2 separate regions of the Homo sapiens genome follow, and region 1 is linked to region 2. The links are contacts of gene promoters, found by promoter capture Hi-C in human tissues and cell types (Jung and others, 2019). All regions are on one chromosome and are shown on one strand. Each heading gives the region's core, a stretch centred on a gene start or on the middle of the fragment in contact. The rest is flanking DNA. Distances are from core to core; before and after follow the strand shown. Region 1 overlaps RALGAPA1 (Ral GTPase activating protein catalytic subunit alpha 1). Region 2 holds the start of CFL2 (cofilin 2).

What was found. The method cuts DNA at HindIII sites, captures the fragments that hold promoters and counts their contacts. A contact is called where the count stands out against the background at its distance.
Region 1: a fragment that was not itself captured here is called in contact with the fragment with the promoter of CFL2 in region 2 in 2 of the 25 tissues and cell types used here (dorsolateral prefrontal cortex and lymphoblastoid cells).

The regions. Positions count from the first base shown.
Region 1 is chr14:35,723,888-35,729,411 of GRCh38, reverse strand. It overlaps RALGAPA1 (Ral GTPase activating protein catalytic subunit alpha 1), which reads left to right. Exons shown (of 42, transcript NM_001346249.2): 13 at 902-1,050; 14 at 4,259-4,388. Among named protein-coding and RNA genes, the nearest start is that of SNORA101B, 36 kb to the left of the region's middle. The HindIII fragment of the contact is 4,321 bases long and covers 574-4,894 here.
Region 2 is chr14:34,713,008-34,718,327 of GRCh38, reverse strand. CFL2 (cofilin 2) reads left to right here and starts at 3,735. Exons shown (of 4, transcript NM_138638.5): 1 at 3,735-3,790; 2 at 4,767-5,074; 3 at 5,192-5,268. The coding sequence starts at 3,788. RefSeq lists silencers at 3,299-3,888, 3,979-4,038. The HindIII fragment of the contact is 13,048 bases long and covers 1-5,320 here.

The DNA of each region.
Region 1 (5,524 bases), core at 1,485-3,984, 1.0 Mb before region 2:
TTTTTTTTATACTTTTTTATAAATGCTCTTTTTTATTTCAATGAATGTGTGCTTTTTTCTTAGTTTGCTAAAAATTGTTTTCAGTCATAAGTGTTGAATGCTTTTTCTGCATACATAGTGATAATCAGTTTTTTCCATTTTAATATTTTGATGGGATATAGTAATTTTTCTAATGGAATCTTCTGTCACCAAAACAGATATACAAACATAAAAATAAATAAGAAAAAGAGGATAAAATGTTTTGAACAACTCATTCAGAAAATTCTTCCTGATTTAGGTGTCATCTTTTATTCTAAACTATGTGTATTTATTTTTTTTTCAATTTATTATAGCAATAGAGTTATTAAAGCTTCTCAGTTTAGAAGTACTGTGTTTTAGGCCAGGTGCAGTGGCTCACACCTGTAATCGCAGCAATTTGGGAAGCCAAGGTGGGCAGATCACTTGAGGCCAGGAGTTTGAGACCAGCCTGGCCAGTATAGTGAAACCCTACCTCTAGTAAAAATACAAAAATTAGCCTGGCATGGTGGCACACATGCCTGTAATCCCAGCTACTTGGGAGGCTGAGGCAAGAGAATCTGTTGAACCTAGGAGGCAGAGGTTGCAGTGAGCCGAAATCATACCGCTGCATTCCAGCCTGGGTGACTAAACAAGACTCTGTCTCGAAAAAAAAAAAAAAGAAAGAAATACTGTTGTTTGCACTTGGTTTATTTTCTTTGGGTACCTACTATTAACTTTATATTTGTCTAGGTAAACATAAAAATAGGTAGGTTTAATGAGTTTATGTTTCAGTTATTAAGCTTGTAGAATTTACCCACAGTGTGATCAGTGTCTGTTTCTCTTTGAATAAGAAATTTGCCATTGAAATTCCTTTGTGAATAGCTAATGATTTCTTTTGTCTTAGGTGTTTATTATAAACTCATCAAATATATTTCTTCTTGAACCTGCAAATGAAATAAAAAATCTTCTGGATGAACACACAGATATGTGTAAACGCATTCTTAACATTTATCGGTACATGGTTGTACAAGTATCAATGGACAAAAAGACTTGGTAAAAAAATTTTTATCCTTTATGTCTATGTGTTTTTATTGTGTACACAGGTATAGTAATTTTTAGAGAAATAGTGTCTGTGAAGAGGGTTTGTTTACAGTATTATAGAGGCTCCTATTATTGAATAAATATAAAATTAATCATAGTGGCAATAGTTCCTTTCAGCTTATCTGAAACTTTGTTCGGACTTCCGCAAGACCCCTTGGACTGTCTTCCTGAAGTGAGCATATAATGGCCTCATCCTCCTCAACCCCTAAGGAAAGAATACATGCATACAAATGTATATGAGTAAATGAAGTTTACTTGTGTGTGAATGAGTTAATGAATAAGTTGATGATTGACTGAATATGTGAATGCCTGAATCCTTAATCTGGCATTCAGAGCTGTATACCGTCAGGCCCTGCCTACTTTTCCTGTCTGAAGTCTAACCTCCAGCTTTCAGGATAAGATCCTGCTTCCCAGCTTTATCAAGTTGTTCTTCCCTGGGCACCTTCTGAACTTTCCTTTAGAATGTCTAATTCTGCTGTTTTTCCTGTTGTCACCGTAACTGTCCCTTAGATTCACCTTCCTGTTTCTACATATCCTTACTTAAATTTTTTCTTCACTTGTTTCCATTCTATATTTGTACTTCTGTATAGTTCTTGTGAAAACTGTCTTGATCCCTAAAATACTTGTGTAAATATCTGTTTACCACCATAGAACTGAGAACCCCTAGAAGGTATTTACTGGTTTTCTTATTTTTATATTTCCTACATTTCTTAGTATAGTACATTATATATCATTGGTGCTCTATAAATAGTTGTCTAATTGATTGGAAAAATAGACCTTTTGGGGAGATGGGAAAGTGGTTCTGCAGTTTTTGTAAAAATGAAATGTTTATCATAAAATTCAAACAAAGAAAAGTTTAAAAAAGAAAAAAGCTCAAAGGTTCACTCTCTAGAGATAGTAGTGATGTTTGTCCTTTGGTGAATATCTAGCTCATCAAACCACACACACAGTTATATAGTATTATACTATATATATATATATATATATATATATATATATATATGCCATAATTTTCTTAACCAGTCCTGTACTGATGGACATGTAGTTATTTCTCTCTGTTTTGAGGCAAAGAGAGGACAATGAACATTCTTATATGTATTTTATTTTCCTCTACATGTGGCAAAACATAAATTAGGTATATGCTTTGACTAAGTACTCCTAATTTTTTTTAAGAAAGAAGACTACTTAGTCAAAGCATATGCCTAATTTATGTATAAAATGGCTTTATATTTTGAAAAGATTCTTTACTAACAGTATTAATAGAATGGCATATAGATGTAGTTATTATTATTAACACATTTGGGACACTTATTTGTGCCACATAGCTTTCTAAGCACTTTACACATATTTTCTTACTTAATTCTTACAGCACCCTATGATACAGATAATACTGGGAAGTTAAGTAACTTGTCCTTGTTCACACAGCTGTTAAGCAGTGGACAGAGATTTGAACTACGGTTTTTCTGACTTCAGAGCCCAAGTTATTATTAGCCAATAACTACATTGGACAATTATCTTGTTAGTCCTTTTTTTTCTTTCTGTATACTTTGAATCATTGATGAGCCAGATTATAGTGACTGACTTGCTATGTAGAAAACAATTTTAGAATTTTTTTCTTAATTTTTAAACTTCCCTTGAAGTAATAGCATTTTGGGAGGTTTTTCATATATTTTACATTGAATTTTTATATAGAGAGAGATGTTTCGCCTTGTTGCCCAGGCTGTTCTTGAGCTCCTGGGCTGAAGCGATCCACCTGCCTTGACCACCTCCCAAAGTACTGGGATTACAGGTGTGAGCCACCACACCTGGCCAGAATTTATAAAACTTTATTAATTAAAATCATTTTTATTGTATTACAAAGTGAAAATATTGTATGATTTATGAGTGAGTTATGGTTTGACAGCAAATAAGATTTATTTGGAAAATCTATGCTTTATTGCATTTGTAGTTGATTTCAAATAGCTTTTTATTTCATGTAGCTAAGCTAGAAGCATAAGGTTACAAATGTGGCACCTTTGATTTTTATTCCGTGAATAAATGCATGCATTTGTTTGCTAATACGTCCAGGATATTTTTAATGTAGTGATAGTTTTCTGTTTGATTCTACTCTGACTTCTCAGAAGAACCATGACATCTAGATCTAGGATCTGTTGCCGCCCCTGCCACATTTCTCACAGTGACTGTTCCACGTATCGCTATGCCTGGAATGGACTTGCAAAATAACCAGAGGGGAGGAGGCTGTGATAGAGAATTGGGCTGATACACCCAACTGAAAGTCCCTTTAGCCTCTTTTTCATATGTGGTTGAATCAAGTTTTGAAGTATCAGTGTAAATAAGGTAGTTTTATGGTTTTAATAATAAGCATCTAAGAGAAGGAGGCAAGGTAAGGATAATAATAGAATTGGTTTAACTTGCAGTACAGACAAAAAAAGATTAAAAAACTGCATAATGAAAAGAGTGGAAAGAAACAATAGAGTAATGGCCCTTGATTAATTATCAAGCTCACTGCAGACTCAAACTCCTAGGCTTAAGTGATTCGCCCACCTCAGCCTCCTGAGTAGCTGAGACTATAGGCATGTGCCACCACACCCAGCTAATTTTTTTTTTTTTTTGAGAGACAAGGCTTGCTGTGTTGCCCAGGCTTCTTTGTGATCTATTAATTAAGATGTCATATAATTTCTGAAATTGAGATTGGTATGATTCTCAATATGTAGTTACTCAACATATTATAAAGATGGATTTGATTGATTTGATATAGTTATTCTCCATATTATAAAGATGGATTTGATTGGATTCCATCTGGGTAGAACTATATTGTGTAGATGAGTGTTCTTCAGATAGCTCCTTAAGGTCACTACTTAATTTGTGGTTGCGGAGACGGGAGCATTCTCCACATTATCACTTCCAGTTCCTCAGCTTTTGAATAGGTTTTTATTTGATGAGAGGATATTGTGGCCGATAAATGATTTTAAATGATTGATGTAGATACATAAAATGTAATTTTAATTTTTAATATTTAAGGAACTCTAAACATTTGAAATTGTCTTTCAAAGATGTTTAATATTTGAATTTTTATAAGAAGTATGTATTTGAAAGTTAACTATTAACCAAATGCAAACATATGCAAGAAGGAAACATTAATCAGTCTTTTTATTTTAAGGGAACAGATGCTGCTTGTGTTGCTCAGAGTCACGGAATCTGTACTGAAGATGCCATCACAAGCTTTTCTACAGTTCCAAGGGAAAAAAAATATGACCTTGGCAGGTCGACTTGCAGGACCACTTTTCCAGGCAATAAAAATAAATAAATAGATGAATAGCTGGATAGATATGGGTTGTTTTGTTTTGTTTTGTTGTTTGTTTGTTTTTTAAAATTCATTGAACCCTGAACTTGTTACCAGAAAAAAAAGTTTTAAATTAGAGATTATTTCTTATTTATTAAGGGATCTTTTGTAGAGCTAACTTAAAAGTTGCTCATCTAAATAAGCTATTTGCCATACATAAAACCTAGTATAAGAGTGGAGGTAATATCAGGTCTGTGAACAAACAGGCTAATGATATTTATTTTATCTCTTGTGTAGTATACATAATATGTGGTTGCAAAAACCTGGCAGTGTTTTAGGGATAATGACCTGACTGCTTTATGAGTTTCCGTATCTCTGGGACTGCTAGGAAAAACTGTCTTTTTATGTTATTCTGTAATAATGAAAAAGTAATAAATAATTAAGATTGATTCTTATCATGCTTTTTTTTAATAAGACTTTATTATCCTCCCTTCTCAGTTGGTGGTAGTTTGATTACACAGGAATTCTATATTGTGTTTTTTAAATCTGAGGATAGAGTGCTGACTTTAAATGTATTATGGATTCTTTGAAAAAAAGAAAACAAAAAATTTTTTTAAGATGATACATGAAATACAAATACATGATTCTTAATGTCAAGGGTAAAAGCTGTCTCAGATCTAATTCTTGGCCAAGAGTAGCCATTTAAATTGGTTGGAGTTTTTTTTCATATATTAGCCATTTACCTAAAATTATATGCTGGTGTTGAACAGTCCTTTAAAACCAGCTACATGTATCATCTAAACTCCTCTTAACTTCATTAGCCATTTTTTGTTTTTTCATTCAGGTTTCTCCATTGTTAGAGCTAACCCGATGATGGGAGCTACAGGAAGATAAAATTTTATCTTGCTATGTGAAACAACTTTTTTATAGTCTGAGTATTAAAGTAGTCTTTTTTTTGTATTAAATTAAAGATAGATTGGGAGGTCAGTAGTTACTATAGTTCTGTACCTAAACTCTGTTCATTTTCATCTTTACATTTCAGGTATAAATTTATGTGAATTCCTTTCTAAATGTTGTAGAATTAAGCTTTTGAGAATCGTTATTTTATGACTTGTTTCTTCAATCAGAGGACATATCTTTAGT
Region 2 (5,320 bases), core at 2,486-4,985:
GCTTACACACAGTTTGTCTGCATAATCTTCCAGATTCACTGTTTTAGATAGTTCTTTCAAACTTTTACATGCCACAGAACCTCCATCCACATTGTTTCTCAGGTGTGGTGGCTCATGCCTGTAATTCCAGCACTTTAGGAGGCCAAGGCGGGAGGACTGCTTGAGCCCAGAAGTTGAGACCAGCCTGGGCAACATAGTAAGACCCCCATCTCTGTAAGTGAGTAAGTAAATATATACATAATAGATTGTTTCTTGGGGGAATAGATTATATATATTAAGGGATGATCACCTTTCCAATTTTTTAAAGAATCCTGAGTAAACAAACTTTAGCTGAGTCTTCAGAATCAATGAGGATTGGGACGGCTTCACGCTATTGCCTATGAGTTGATAAAATCAGTGCCTTCATCTTCACTCTGCTGGTGGTAATAACAGCTCCAGGGTTCCTATTTCTGTGCTGGACAAGGGCTTTACATACATTATCTCTCTTGATCCTCCCCATAATCCTGAGAGGGAAGAGGTCATATAATCCCTATTTTACACATGATTTGGAAACTGAGCCTTATGGCAGCTAAATCAATGGCCTGAAATTGCACCGCTACTAGTGTCTGAGCTGAGATTACATTCAGAGGTTACTCTCACTAAGTTCCTAATAGTTGTCACTGCCATCTATGTGTGGTCTAGTAAATGGATAATTATAGCTTAGATGTTTACAGCACAAAAGTATCTAGTACCACATTGTTCGGGGTCCCTCTGTCACACCTATTAATTGTTTGCTTGAGCTTGAAATTGCTCAGAACAGTTGTATGGTAGGCAGAATAATGCAACCCCTCCTCACAAAGGTGTTCCTGTCCTAACCTCCAAAGTCTTTGAATGTTAACTTGTACGAAAAAACAGACTTTGCAGATGTGATTAAGTTAAGGATCTTGAGAGGGGGAATTATCCTAAACTACCAAGTGGGGTCCAAAGTAACCATAATGGTCCTTATAAGTGGAAGACGGAGGCAGGAGAGAGAGAGTCAGAGGAAATGTGATGACTGAGGCAGAGGTCAGAGTGATGCGACTGCTGCCTGGGGCCACAGGCCAAAGATGATGGGCAGGTCGAGTGTGGTGGCTCGCACCTGTAATCCCAGCACTTTGGGAGGCCAAGGTGGGCGGATCACAAGGTCAGGAGATCAAGACCATCCTCGCTAACACGGTGAAACCCCATCTCTACTAAAAATACAAAAAATTAGCCGGGCATGGTGGCGGGTGCCTGTAGTCCCAGCTACTCAGGAGGCTAAGGCAGGAGAATGGTGTGAACCCAGGAGGCGGAGTTTGCAGTGAGCCGAGATAGCACCACTGCACTCCAGCCTGGGTGACAGAGTGAGACTCCATCTCAAAAAAAAAAAAAAAAAATGATGGGCAGCCTCTAGATGTTGGAAAAGGCAAAGGAGTCTCCCACTACAGTCTCTTGACTTTAGCCCCATCAGGCTTATTTCTGCTAGTTGTGGTGGTTCATGCCTGTAATCCCAACTACTCGGGAGGCTGAGGCAGGAGGCTCACTTGAGGCCAGGAGTATGAGGCTGCAGTGAGCTATGATCACATCCTGCACTCCAGCAACCTGGGTGGGCAACAGAACCAGAGACTATCTCTTAAATATATATATATAGAGAGAGAGACTTGTTTCTCTGACTCTGTAAGACCATAAATAATAAATTTGTGTTGTTTTAAACAAGTAATTTTATGGTAATTTGTTATAGCAACAGTCGAACGCTAATACATGTGGTATCTGACACTCAGATCCCCCTCCACTACACAGTGACCAAAATTCATGCAGCAATGATTGGCAATGCTGCCCCTTTACCAAGTGGTGGTAAGTTCTGGTTATAACTCACAGAGGTGAAGGCAGGAAGCTGCTACTGGCCCTGACATTCTCAGTGCCATGCTCACAAGGGCATGTAGAAAGGCTTCACAATTTTCAGAAGCTTCCTTTTCATTCTCTTTACAGCACTAAAGCATCTTAAATGTATTATTTCAGCACCTATTAAGCACCTACTATCTGTCAGGTTCCAGAAATTCAAAGATAACCAGGACTCAGATCCTTAAGGAGCTTACAGCGCAGTAGGGTGGCAGAAGACATAAACAAGTTATTATAATGTAACAAAATATATGCAAGACAAAAATAACTTCAGGAAAAGAATCTTAGAACATGTGAATTACCATCTCTGTTTGGGGAGGGTAAGAGAGAATGGGAGGCATGGAAAGGGGTTGGAGTCCGAGCTAGGGGGTGACTAGCATCTTTGGAATCCCCAGCTTTGGTGGGTAAGGTTCTGACACCCACTTTAGGCCCCAGTGTCATCAGACCTGGTCTCTGCTGGGGCTGCTGCAAATCTCTGAGGTTGGGAAGGGAAGGTAACCGCAAGATGAAGCGAACAGGAATTTGCTAATACCTACACATAGCAGATGATCAGAGCTCTGGAGAGACATTCTCCATGACTTCTTGGAAGTTCAACAGATAAAGTGAAAGGTTCCATAAATTGTAATGTACCAGCTAGATATAAAGTATTATCCACTTGCTTGGGATTCATGCTTAGACATTGGGAAATCCCTTCTCAATTTTTGTCTCTAAACGAAGTCTATCTTCCAATTAAGAAAACAAACCCAAGATATAGACAGAAAAATAGGTCTGTTTCAATGCCTAGCATGTTCCATTTAAAATACAGTAAATTTGGGCTGAAAGAACTTATCACGCAATCTAGGGCAAACACCATCTCATGACTTTCCTGCCTAACCTCAATCCTGAGACCACCAAAAACACACCATTTCCTACTGAACATTGATATACTCAGAAACTGAAATCTAAAGCTGGAAAGGGCCTTAACGATAATTTAATAACAGTTTGTTTTACACATGAAGAACCCTGAGGTATGGAGGAGTTAAGATTAAAAAAAGAGAAACTGCCTTGGCGCAGTTATATGGGCTTTGCTAGAAGAGGCTGCGTCGGCTTATTTGATATCAGCTGTCATAGCTGGAGCTTCATGAAATCTCTAAGAGAGAGTACAATCCATTTCCTATGAAGTCTAAAATGTAAAAGGATATTACTAAGGAATGCTACCACGTAATTTTTTAATCATAATTATTATTTCAACCAGAGTTTTGAAAAGTGATTTACCAACACTGCGTATCATTTTGTTTTTGCTAAGTACTATCAACTGGAGCAATCTCGTGTAGTATTTATTCTCATTTATCTCTAAACAACTGGGGGTTTTCCAAAAAGACTCAAAATGTCGAAATCCAGCCTCTTTCGGGAAAACCACAGGTAAATAAGGAAAGACACCTTCGCAGGAGTTCCCCTCACACGCACCCACCCCTGGCGCAGGGCCCTACGGAGGCGGTGGAAACGCCCCTCTGGGAGCCCAGCACTCTCTCCCACCGGCTTGACGGGTGATGCTCGGGGGCTGGAGGCGGCTCTGCCAGGCTCCCGGGCTCCGCTACCACCGCGTCGCCCCCCCCGGCCTGCAGGGCTCGCGCTCTGAGGTCAGGCCGAGGACGCGGACAGCCGGGGAGCCGGGGCCGCGAGACAGAAGGGCCGGCCTGGGAGCGGGTGGCGCCGGCTGGGGACCAGGCGTGCCCACGTGACCGCCCCGCCCGCTGCCTGCGGCCCGCCGAGCCCCGCCACCTCCCTCGGGCTGCAGCTCCCGGCGTGCCCCGCACTCTCCGCTGCCCACCCGCTCGCCCGCCCCTCCTTCTCCTCCCAGTGCCACAGAGCCGAAGCCCGAGCTGCCGCCGCAGCCACAGCCGAGGGCACTATGGTAAGACGAGCGCGCTGGCCGGGAGGCCGCGGCGAGGCGAGAAAAGCCCCCCGCACGGCCCCGGGAGTGAGGCCGCCATTTTAACCTGATTTTGGCCTCCAAGGTGGGCGCTTCTGCTCTGCGGCTCCGCTGCTCTCCAGCCGACCGGCCTGCCCTCCGGCCGTCAGGCCCTGCCCTGCTGCTCTTTGGATTTTGGGGGGCGGGGAGGGCCCGGGCGTCGGCGCAGGTTGGGGGTCGGGGCCGGGCGGGCGGGGGCGCGAGAGGGTCTGCGGACTGCAGCCGCTCGCGCCGCCTTTGCCCTTCGCTTCCTAATTTTACTTAACACGCGAGGCTTTAAAATTGGTACGTGCTGCGAACGCTGTGTGGGTCAGGGTCTGGACGGCCTGTAATAAAACCCTTACGGGGAGATTAAGGAAGAGGGAAAACACTTTTTAAAATGCTTTCTCGCCGTAAAAGCTTTTACACTCGATCAGTTAGTTTTGGAGTGTCTGCATGTGAGCTGTGTGTGGGCCGTGGGCGGTTTGGAGTTTACACTTGATTCTCTTTCCTTATGAGGAAACGTCAGTGGCTAGGATGACTTTAAAGAAAAAAATAGTAGAAGCATTAACTGAAATCCAAAAGTGTTTTTTTAAGGCCAGCCGAGTTGACACAATACAGAAGGTATTTTTGCTGCCACTCCTGAAGCTCTGACATCACCCAGTGAAATAGGAAACATTTCAGGGATGGGACAACTTGTATTTGTCCCTTTCGCTTCCACGTCCAAACCCCTTTAAGAAGGATGAATGGGCAGGATGAGTTAGACTCCTTCGCTGTATCGTCTACTGATTCTTAAAATGTGACAAATCTGATTGGACGACTTACATGGTACGGTGCAATTTTTGATGTCCAGACTAAAGTGAGTCTTCTCTAGGCAAACAGTAATTTTGGTTAAAACCAAAATACGTGTTCTGAATTACTGTTCTGTGTTTATTTTCAGGCTTCTGGAGTTACAGTGAATGATGAAGTCATCAAAGTTTTTAATGATATGAAAGTAAGGAAATCTTCTACACAAGAGGAGATCAAAAAGAGAAAGAAAGCAGTTCTCTTCTGTTTAAGCGATGACAAAAGACAAATAATTGTAGAGGAAGCAAAGCAGATCTTGGTGGGTGACATTGGTGATACTGTAGAGGACCCCTACACATCTTTTGTGAAGTTGCTACCTCTGAATGATTGCCGATATGCTTTGTACGATGCCACATACGAAACAAAAGAGTCTAAGAAAGAAGACCTAGTATTTATATTCTGGTGTGTAAAAACAAAAGAAAAAAGTACTTTTAAAATGCAAGGATTATTATTATCATAGTCAGTCTTACCTTTGTTTTTCTTATAAATGGGATTCAATAATTTTTTTTTTTTCTGTAGGGCTCCTGAAAGTGCACCTTTAAAAAGCAAGATGATTTATGCTAGCTCTAAAGATGCCATTAAAAAGAAATTTACAGGTACAAACTTGAATATTTGGGGCAGAGAAATTATTCTTTATTAATTATAATA